Regions from separate parts of the Homo sapiens genome. Here regions 2 and 3 are each linked to region 1. The links are contacts of gene promoters, found by promoter capture Hi-C in blood cells and fetal thymus (Javierre and others, 2016). All regions are on one chromosome and are shown on one strand. The core of a region is centred on a gene start or on the middle of the fragment in contact, and the rest is flanking DNA. Distances in the headings are between cores, read along the strand shown. Region 1 holds the start of NSMCE3 (NSE3 component of SMC5/6 complex). Region 2 overlaps OCA2 (OCA2 melanosomal transmembrane protein). Region 3 overlaps HERC2 (HECT and RLD domain containing E3 ubiquitin protein ligase 2).

Evidence for each region. Contacts are between HindIII fragments. The CHiCAGO score rates a contact against its expected background, and 5 or more counts as called.
Region 2: a fragment that was not itself captured here is called in contact with the fragment with the promoter of NSMCE3 in region 1 in 5 of 17 cell types (non-activated CD4 T cells, total CD4 T cells, fetal thymus and 2 more); the score reaches 7.7 in non-activated CD4 T cells.
Region 3: a fragment that was not itself captured here is called in contact with the fragment with the promoter of NSMCE3 in region 1 in 1 of 17 cell types (fetal thymus); the score reaches 8.5 in fetal thymus.

What each region holds. Positions count from the first base shown.
Region 1 is chr15:29,268,363-29,271,607 of GRCh38, forward strand. NSMCE3 (NSE3 component of SMC5/6 complex) reads right to left here and starts at 1,460. Exons shown (of 1, transcript NM_138704.4): 1 at 1-1,460. The coding sequence starts at 1,343. The coding sequence ends at 429. All of the region lies in intron 2 of ENTREP2 (endosomal transmembrane epsin interactor 2), which reads right to left. RefSeq lists enhancers at 755-1,256, 1,257-1,756. The HindIII fragment of the contact is 8,019 bases long and covers 1-2,956 here.
Region 2 is chr15:28,093,260-28,096,504 of GRCh38, forward strand. The region is part of intron 1 of OCA2 (OCA2 melanosomal transmembrane protein); the gene reads right to left. Among named protein-coding and RNA genes, the nearest start is that of OCA2, 4.4 kb to the right of the region's middle. The HindIII fragment of the contact is 3,761 bases long and covers 1-3,245 here.
Region 3 is chr15:28,115,588-28,118,832 of GRCh38, forward strand. It overlaps HERC2 (HECT and RLD domain containing E3 ubiquitin protein ligase 2), which reads right to left. Exons shown (of 93, transcript NM_004667.6): 87 at 1,426-1,567; 88 at 1,078-1,272. Among named protein-coding and RNA genes, the nearest start is that of OCA2, 18 kb to the left of the region's middle. The HindIII fragment of the contact is 5,691 bases long and covers 1-3,245 here.

The DNA of each region.
Region 1 (3,245 bases), core at 210-2,709:
GATATAGGCAATTATTTTTTTTAATTTTATAAAAACTTTTATTTTTCCTTACAAACTGGGGTAGTTAGGAGACCTGATAATAGCTTTTTTATTTTCTTGGCACCAAAGCAACTTACTTATGTGTTCCTTCTTGCATTATCTGTTCCAGATCATAGTCAAGTTTTCCAATTCGTTTTACTAAGCTAGCAAAATTTTTTATACCAAAAAGAGTAAAATCAAAACAAATGCTCCTTTGTTTATAGATGAAAATCTGGAGCAAAATAACACAACATTAAAAAAACAAAACTTTGCAAACACATCCTAAAGCTACACACATTGAAGCGTTTACAGCAATATGCTCCCTGGGTTCGTTCTCCCTTCCCCCAATCCTCTAAACTGTGCCTTTGGGTCTCAGACCCTTGTCCCGGGGGTCCCTCTGAATCCACCTTTCAAGAGGATGGAGCTGGGCCACTAGGCTGAGGTCTGGCCCTGTTCTCCTCATCTGCCAAAGCCTCACAGTACTGCGCTGGCCAGTCCTTGGGGTCTTGATTATGGACCTTGGCCACAAACTTAAGAACTTTCATCTTGCTGGTTTCCAGGTTGGTTCGCGGGCCCCACTGGAATTCGTAGTCGACGGGGTCGGTGTGGGGTATCCGCCGGTATTCCAGGTAACGCTGTCGCACAAAGTCCTCAGTAATGAGTTTCTTTGGATCTCCGAAAATTAAATGCTTCTTGGTGGGGTAGACCCCTAAGCGCCGCAGAAAGTCCCAGGCTTCAGTTTCCTTGATGGTGTTGCCCTTCATAAAGATGAGCCCTAAGACGATCATCAGGAGGCCCGTAGTGGGCGTGCCTTGGTCACCCCTCATCTCGGCATCCTCCTCCACAGGCTCCAGGGTGTTGATGAGGATGTAAGTGTTGCTCTTGGGTTCAAGTTCCACCAGCTTATACCCGAAGACGTACTGGAGGCGCTCGGCGGCCCGTTTGAAGAGGTCGGGGAAGATGTCCTTGTAGTCCCCGATGACGTGCTTCAGTATGTCGGCCCGCTTGATCGGAATCTTCTTCTGGTCTTTAATCAGCAAGAACTGCACCAGCTCGGACACTTTCAGCTCCAGCTGCTTCTGGCTCCTGGGCCCCACGGCGGGGGCGGCCTGGGCCCGGCGGGCGCCCTGAGGCGAGGGGCCCTGCGACCCCTGCGAGCCGCCCGGCCCGCGGGACGTGCTCGGGGCCTCCTCGGCAAAGCCGTCTCTGAGAACCCGGGCGTCTTCCCCGGCCCGCGAAGCCCCGGGGTTTCCGCTATGGCTCCAGTCTCTGTCCCTCTCGGCCTGGCCGCCAGAGCGGCCCCGGTTCCTCGGTTTTTGCAACATGTCTCCGGCGGCAGGTGCCGGCGCACACTCCGGTAGGCAAGCAGCCGCGGCGGGGATTGCGGGTCGGCGACCCGCTAACGCCGGTGCCTGGAGGCGCGCGCAGTGTCGGCTGAGACTGCGTGCTGCGTCATGAAGCCTGCGCCTTGCGTCAGGGCGGCTGGGCGGTGCGCCTGCGCGGCTGCGGCGGGTACCAAAAGGAACAGCGTTTTCCGTGCAGCCCTGCAGGTCCGGGCGATGATTTTTAGTATAGTGAAGTGTTGTTACCAAACCATGCAAACAGAGAGCGAGAACCGAAACTCCTAAACAAGTGTGTCGCTAAATTCAGACCACACAGGCTCAGGCAAGTTTTACAGACAGTATTATGAGTTTCTAAATCGGGAGCATTTGTAAACGGAAAGAATTCAGAGGATGAACGTGTGAGAAAAAAAAAAGGTGAAGAGGAAGGGCCGACCGTGGAAGTAAAGTAAAAACATTTATTTCTACACAAAATGTAGAAGGACATAAAAGACCCAGAGGGCTCTTAGTTTTCGTCCCTCCACCCAATTTCATACCCTCCATCCCACTGCCCCCAGTTACTTTCTCTAATGCCCCGTGGAGTCTGTTAAAAACCAAAGTCGGCTGCAGGCTTTCTGCGCAAGCAGGACTTCAGTTTCACTATTTCCGTATTTATATTCTCTGCATTAAACTCCTTTAGCTAGACAACTATGAGAAGACCACAAAAAACGTGTCAGTATTAGGTAAATGTTTTAGCTTGGTCACATGGGTTTATCTTTTGGAAAACAACTGCTTTCGTCACAACCACAATTTTAGCAGAAATGGGTAAGAGGAATGCTGCAAACAAACGTGCACTCTCAAGAGATTACTACTTAATTTGGGGCATCACTGATCAAGAATTGCAATAATGTGGAGCTCTTAAATTTCTTAATTCATAATATATTAGCTTTGAGGAAAAAAAAGAGAACACTGGGGGATTTATCTCTCATCTATGATGTGATATACAGTCTCTACTGTATATTTTAATTGTGCAACTCAAGTAGCCAAAATGAGTCATTTCATTAACTCAAACCATCAGCAGTCTGCTGCCATGACTTCTACAGATCTTAGCAAATTTGTTTCTTCTCTATTTACTTGCAAAGAAGAAACTGAATTTCCCTGTGTCTTTTTAAAGCTACCCAGAAAGTGGATAAACTCTTCAAAGAACCAAATTGAGTTCCTCTTTAATGCAAATATATTCAAAGGAAAGCAATTTAGAACACATTATCTGAGTAATAGCATCAAACACAACCTTATTAAAATTTTGTTAATTGTTAGTAGCATAACACTTTTGTTTGTAATTCAGTAGGAAAATGCAATCTGATAATGGCACTGGAACTGCAATAGTAAATGTAAAATCATATTCCATGAACTAATGCAAGTATGCTAAAATCTGGTATGCAATGAGTAATAACTTACTGTTCCACACAAGATGCAACTATATCCTCAGGCATCAATTTTAATGACAAAGGCCTACTATGAAAAACAAATATATTATCAAGGCATTCATTTTTTTACAATGAGAAAATTCATCTGCTTCAGTTTCCTTGCAAATTAAAATCTGGACTTAGGTTCATAGAAGCTTCCTGCCATCTAGAATTCTGCAAAAGGTCCCTACTGCAGGATGTGGATGTTGTATTGAGGGAATAGAGAGACCGTCTCATATTGTTTTATATTGTTTTATACTCAGTACCTGTTTTAAGAAAAAACAACAAGGAAGTAAAACCAAATACAGGCAGCCCAGCGCCAGGCCCAAAACCAGGCCTGGGCCTGCCTGGCCTAAACCCAGTAGTTAAAAATCAACTCATAACTTAGAAACCGATGTTATTCATAGATTCCAGACATTGTATAGAAGAACATTGTATAAAG
Region 2 (3,245 bases), core at 293-2,792, 1.2 Mb before region 1:
AAAAATACAAAAATTAGCCAGGTGTGGTGGCGGGCGCCTGTAATCCCAGCTACCGAGGAGACTGAGGCAGGAGAATCACTTGAAACCAGGAGGTGGAAGTTGCAGTGAGCCACTGCACTCCAGCCTGGGCGACAAGAGCAAAACACCGTCTCAAAAAAAAAAAAAGAAAGAAAGAAAAAAGAAAACAGAGACAACACCGCCAGCTGCCTAGGACTCGAGAGGGTGGTTCACTCCTGCATCACCAATGGGAATGTAAAATTGTACAGCCACTCTGGAAAGCAGTTTGACAGTTTTTAAAAAAAAACTAAAATTGCAACTACCAGCCAACAATTGCACTCCTGGACATTAATCCCAGAGAAATGAAACTTTCATTCACACAAAACCCTACACGCAAATGGTCATAGAAGCTATATGAAAAATTGGAAGCCACGCAGCCGTCTGTCCGTAGGGGAGTGTGAAATAGGCTGCGGTGCATGCATGCCGGGAAGACCACGCCACAATCAAAAGGAACAGACAATTCATACACAGCAACGTAGAGGAATCCAGAGTGAAAATCCTCAGTGAAAAAAAGCAAGTTCCAACAGACTATTTACTCTGATTCCATGACTACAACATTCTTGAAACGGCAAAGTTATATCAATGGGGAACAGGTTAGTGGTTGTCCGGGGTTGAGTAGGGGCTCTCGTTCCACCTCACTTCCTGCCTCTTCCCTGGGAGACAGAGGCCTCTGCTCACCCAGAACTCTCCCTCTTTCTCACACATTCCTCATCCAGTTCTTCCAAACACATCCTAACTCCTCCTAGTCCCACCTGGTCATCGCCTCTCATGCAGATGATGGAGCACTCCAATCCCACAGCCTGTCCCTTAGGGGACCCCAACACCCTAGCACACAGCCTGTCTCCTAGGGGACCCCAACACCCTAGCACACAGCCTACCTCTGGGGGACCCCAACACACTAGCACACAGCCCGTCCTCTGGGGTGACCCTCCCTTCACCCCAGCCCGTGGCTGCACTCTCACGGGAACCACAGCTTCAGCCTGGCTTTGCTTTATTGGGCCCCATGCGCTTGACTTGCCTAGGGCAGGGCCACCCTGGGCAGAGCTCCCGCCCGTAGGGACACCTGCAGCTGGCGGGAGAGGGGTAGGGGAGCTGTAAGCCGGCGGCACAGGGCGGAGTATGCCACAGCCCCAACCCACCCCTCCAGGTCCTCCCCGCGATGGCGCCCAGGACCCTCCTTCCAAGCAAGACTCACACCGAAGTCACCAAATTTTAGAAAGAAAAAATAGATAGTTGTGGCTTATTTTTAGAAAAAAAAAATAGATGGTTCAGAGTCGGTGGAACCTTCCAGTCCTCACACTCAACCCCAAATCGTTCGTGTGGGCTACTGCCGGCCCTCTCTCCGGCTCTGCGCTCTTTCTGCCTGCAACCGTGCCCCCGAACTCGGGCCCTGCGAGGTGGGGGTGGGCCCGGGCCCCTCCTGCCGCCCCTGCTGCCAGCACCGTTCTCTCCGAGGCCCTCAACGCCCCGCCGTGCCGTGGCCTTCAGAGCGCGCCAGACGCTCACCAAGCCTGCCCGAGCCCCGCCTCCCGCAGCCGTGCCCAGGGCGGAGTGGGGCGACGGCACCGGTGCCAGGACCGACAGAGGCCAGGGCGCGGCGCCGGGCGTGGTCCTGACACCTGCCCTGCCGGGAAGGGGACGGCGTTCCACGCCTGGGCCCTTCTCCACTGCGTACAGGAGCCTGGGTCACCTGCTCGGCCCAAGAAAAGGCTCCAGGCCTGCGGGTGTGAATGAGCAGCAGCCAAGAGAGCGGTGCTGCCGGCGCTCAAGCTAGGCCGGGTCACCGCCTCCTGCCCAGGTCCAGGCAGCCCCGGCCTTTCCCGCTGGTACTGGCACGCCCGTGGCCGCACGGCTGAGTGCTCCGGGCATGGTGGGTCTGCGGGACTCGGAGCAGAGCTCGAGCTGGCGGATCCCCGGTTGGCGCCCGGCGGGAGGGCAGGAGTGGCCCAGCCAGGCCGCCCTGCGCACTCCCCGCCCGGGTGCGCCCGGGGGACCGCGGCCCTCCCACCCCGCCCCTGTGAAACGACAGCCGGCAGCAGGCGCCGCACGCCGACTTCACAGTGGCGGCGATCAACAGCGTGTGGAAAACAGCTTCTTCGTAAATCTTAAGAACATTGTGGCCGGGCGCGGTGGCTCACACCTGTAATCCCAGCAATTTGAAAGACCAAGGCGGACGGATCACTTGAGGTCAGGAGTTCGTGACCAGGCTGACCAACATGGAGAAACCCCGTCTCTACTAAAAATACAAAAATTAGCCGGGCGTGGTGGCGCGTGCCTGTAATCCCAGCTACTCGGGAGGCTGAGGCAGGAGAACCGCTTGAACCAGGGAGGTGGAGGTGACGGTGAGCCGAGATGGCGCCATTGCACTCCAGCCTGGACAACAAGAACGAAACTGTCTCAAAAAAAAAAAAAAAAGAACATTGTTCTTCGAGTTCTTTAAATATCTGACATAATACCGGCAAGGAACGAGAAGCACCAGGTTTAGGCGCTGAGGTGAAAATTTGGCTGTTGAAAGGCAGTCCCTCTGCAGCCAACTCCCCTCTGGTGGACAGTGTCTAACATCCAGAGAAAACACCCGTCACTGAACGCTCCCCTCCCCACAAAGCGCTGCTTGGCCCCAAATCGTCCCTAATGCGCTGCTCAGCCCCAAGGCGTCCCTCTGAGCGAGAAACCGCCCCTGGCTATGCTTGCAGGGGCCTGGCTGGGTCCACAGGGCATGGCTGTGTCTCTCGGAGCACGGCCCTTCTCTCCGGGGGCCTGGCTGCGTCTGCAAAGGCGTCAATGTGTCTCCGGGGGCGTAGCTTGTCTCCGGGGCGTGGTCGTGTCTCCGGGAGGTGGCTGGTCTCGGGGGCGTGGCTTGTCTCCAAGGCGTGGCCGTGTCTCTGGGGGCATGGCTTGTCTCCGGGGCGTGGTTGTGTCTCCTGGGGCGTGGTCGTGTCTCTGGGGCTTGGTAGTGTCTCCGGGGGCATGGCCTGTCTCCGAGGTGTGGTCGTGTCTCCGGGGGCGTGGCTTTTCGTTGGAGGTGGTCTGTCTGTGTCGGGCGTGACTGTGAGCCGGAGGCGTAGCCGTGTCTCGGGAGCCTGGCGGTGTCCGCAGGAGCGATGCTGTGACCGTTGCATTTGAAGCATTCCTTCTAGTTCCCGGATCCCAGGGAGGGGGCAGGAGAAGCCCTGCGGCCAAGAAGGCCT
Region 3 (3,245 bases), core at 472-2,971, 1.2 Mb before region 1:
CAAAACTTCCCGCTCACTCACACACGCCACTGACAGCAGCTCCACACTCAGGACTCAGAGCCTTCTGAAGCAGCAACACCCACATCATAGGTCTAGGCCCTTCCTCAAGACCGCCTGTCCTGCTCTAAATCTATCCTTTTGTGCCTAAAAGCCTCTAACTCTTCACATCCTTTCTGCACGCACACTAGTTTAAGCCACACAGTGGCCAATTCTTCTTCTTATGACAGCAAAGAGCTGGAACTTCCCCACGGGAGTGTCCTCCAGGGAGCTACAGCCCTGCCCAGGAGGTGCTGGCTGTGGTGGGACGCACAGCCGAGGACACCCTGCACACCCTCAGTGGGACAGGAAGGAGGGACTGGCCAATGGCGAAGACCTCACCCCACTCTGATCCCAAGTCTCAGATAAACACTGAAGATGCAGAAACAGAATCTCCCATCTTCTGAGTACCCGAGGCAGTCTCCAGTCCTCAGCACGTGGCCGGGGCTGGCTCTGCCAGTGCCTGCAGCTGTGCACAGAGCTTCCGACGGTCCACCACCGTCAGGCCCTCAATGCTAGGCACGGAAGTCAACAGCACCTCGTTCGCTTCCACAATGTTGGTGAAAGGCACGATCAATATTAAAAGTCTTTTCTTTTTCTTTTTTTTTTTTTTTTTGATACAGAGTGTTGCCCAGGCTGGAGTGCAATGGTACGATCTCAGCTCACTGCAACCTCCGCCTCCCGGGTTCAAGCAATTCTCCTGCCTCACCCTCCTGAGTAGCTGGGACTACAGGTGCATGCCACCACAGCCAGCTAATTTTTTTTGTATTTTTACTAGAGACGAGGTTTCACCACATTAGTCAGGCTGGTCTCGAACTCCTGACCTCAGGCAATCTGCCTGCCTCAGCCTCCCAAAGTGCTAGGGTTATAGGCGTGAGCCACCGCGCCTCACCCTAAAAGTCATTTTTATTGGTAACAGTCTCAAAAACTAAAAGCAGATATTCAAGATATCTACTGTCACTCCTCAAACAGATAGTACATTTTAACTCAAGAGCAGGCACAGGCCACAGCGACACAGTCTCAAGCGGCCGAGAAGCTCACCCAGGAAGCGGAACATGCTGCTGTGCACGGGTGCTCTGGCGGCCGGGCTGAGCAGGTAGCAGTCTCGGTTGGCCCCAGACTCATCCCTCCCGTTGGGTGTCACGATCAGCAGGGGCGTGAGTCCGTTCTGCAGCTCCTCACAGATCTCAGCTATGGACTCGCTGTAGCCGCCCCCACAGTCATCCACAGATTCACCTGCAGGGGAGAAGCAGCCACTCGAAGTCCCCTCACACAGTCCTGTGTAAAGAGAGCCCCAACGCTCCCACACCATGTGGCCTCTGTGCTCCCTGTGGGCTCAGGCGACCACTGCCGGGGACACAGGTGCTCCAGCACGTGGCAAGTTCTCACCCACAAACTTGACTTTCCAGACACGGTGAGGAAGGAGGAGGCTGTCGGGACCAAACGAGCTCATCTTAGCACACATCTGCCCAAAGACAGACTTGGTGCCGTCGGGGCCGGCCAGCCCGCCTTTGCTCCTTGATCGTTTGACCTGGAGAGGAGGAAGCAAGCAAGCGTGAGGCCGCTGCCGCAGCAGGAAGCACACAGTCGGGGATATGCGGCACTGGCGAATGCACGAGGAGGAGGCACCGTGCATGGGCCCCTCCCTGGTCACACACCTGCTTGTGTGGACGCCAGGCAGACCCTGCCGTCTGGGGCGCTCGACTGTGGACACCCGAGACCGCTGCCTCACCCCATTGGGCATGTCGCCAGTGATGTGCCCAGCAGCCCCCAGGACTAGTGTGTCTGAACAAACACACCTTCCAACACGACACACACCACCACCACGTCCACAGCTGCGGCCCGGCAGCACCACCCTGGCACGGACCATCCTCACACCCTAAGCACTGCTGCTACTTCACCATCTTGCCACGACCTCATGAAATAAGACACCAGGAACTCCAAAAGCAGCTCCCCCAGCAGACCAGAACAGACTCCCGGCACTCAAAGATTCAACCCAATGCCCCTGAGACTGAAGCAGACACAGTGAGTGAGTGCCTCAGCCAGGACCAGCCCTTCCCCACATCTGCTTCCACCCATCCCATTTCCAAGCCTTGGGGCCACTCAGCCTCCCCAACACAGGCAGTCACTCCCTGCCCATCCTTCTCATCCTAAGCTACAATTGCTAAAGGCTCAGGGGCCTCCAATTCCCAAAGACACCAGGGCAGGAGCCCTAGGGCCCCGCCGCAGCAGGACCTCGGCACATCGGAGGGCAGGTGGCCGAGGCTGTGCATCAGAATCATCTGGGAAGCCCAGTCTGGAAGGATGTCAAAAAGAAAAATTGAAGAAAAAATGGTCCTGAGAATGTATTTTGATGACTCCTCCAGTGAAGCTCTCTTCACCTTTAGCTCACTTAAAGTTGAGTTTAAACAGCTTACAGAGCAGGCTGCCATAACCAAGACTAAAAATACAAGAAGAATGACAGGAGCCACAGTTGCCTGTAGAATGAACTTGTCTGCGTGCCACACACACGGCTAGTGTTCACAGACGTGAGTTCCTGGAAACTCGCGGCAGCTTGTTAAGGCTCCATCATGCCCAGAGGAGACTAGGCTACAAGAAAAGAACAGGACATGCCCTATGTCACGGCGGCTGTGTGAGAGGAGAGGTGCACCCAGCTCCCCGAAGCCCACGGGGCTGCCTCTCCTCCATGACGACACCCACTAGTAGAGGCTGTCTGCACTCAGAGGCTGCAGAAAACAGCAGCCATAAGGCTGGAGGCAGACAGGCTCCTGCGGGACAGCACTTTCTCTGCTCAATAGAAACACAGATGATTTTAACTGTCTTTAATCTGAATTCCCTAAATTTTCAGAAATGTGCATGCAATAACTCTGTAATAAATTTTTAAGTATAAAAAAGTTTTTATGTAGTGATGTTCAGATCCTGCTATAAAACTAAATAAAATTCCCAACAAACAAAACCTTCCAGTAAGATGACCTGTGTTCTGGAGTCTCTGAAACTATCCAGACAGCTGTGAGAGTCCCTCCCATGGCATCCTCTTGGGAGGCGTGTCCCTGAGCCCATCATCGCAGCCATGGGGTGGCGGGTTGGAGGCGCCTGTGCAGCCTTCCTGGCTCCGTGCTGGTGTCCTGTGCACACCCTGAATTCAAACAATGTTTTTCTCCATGTTCATTTTTAGGCAGAAAATCACTTCTATTTCTACATCTGTAGAA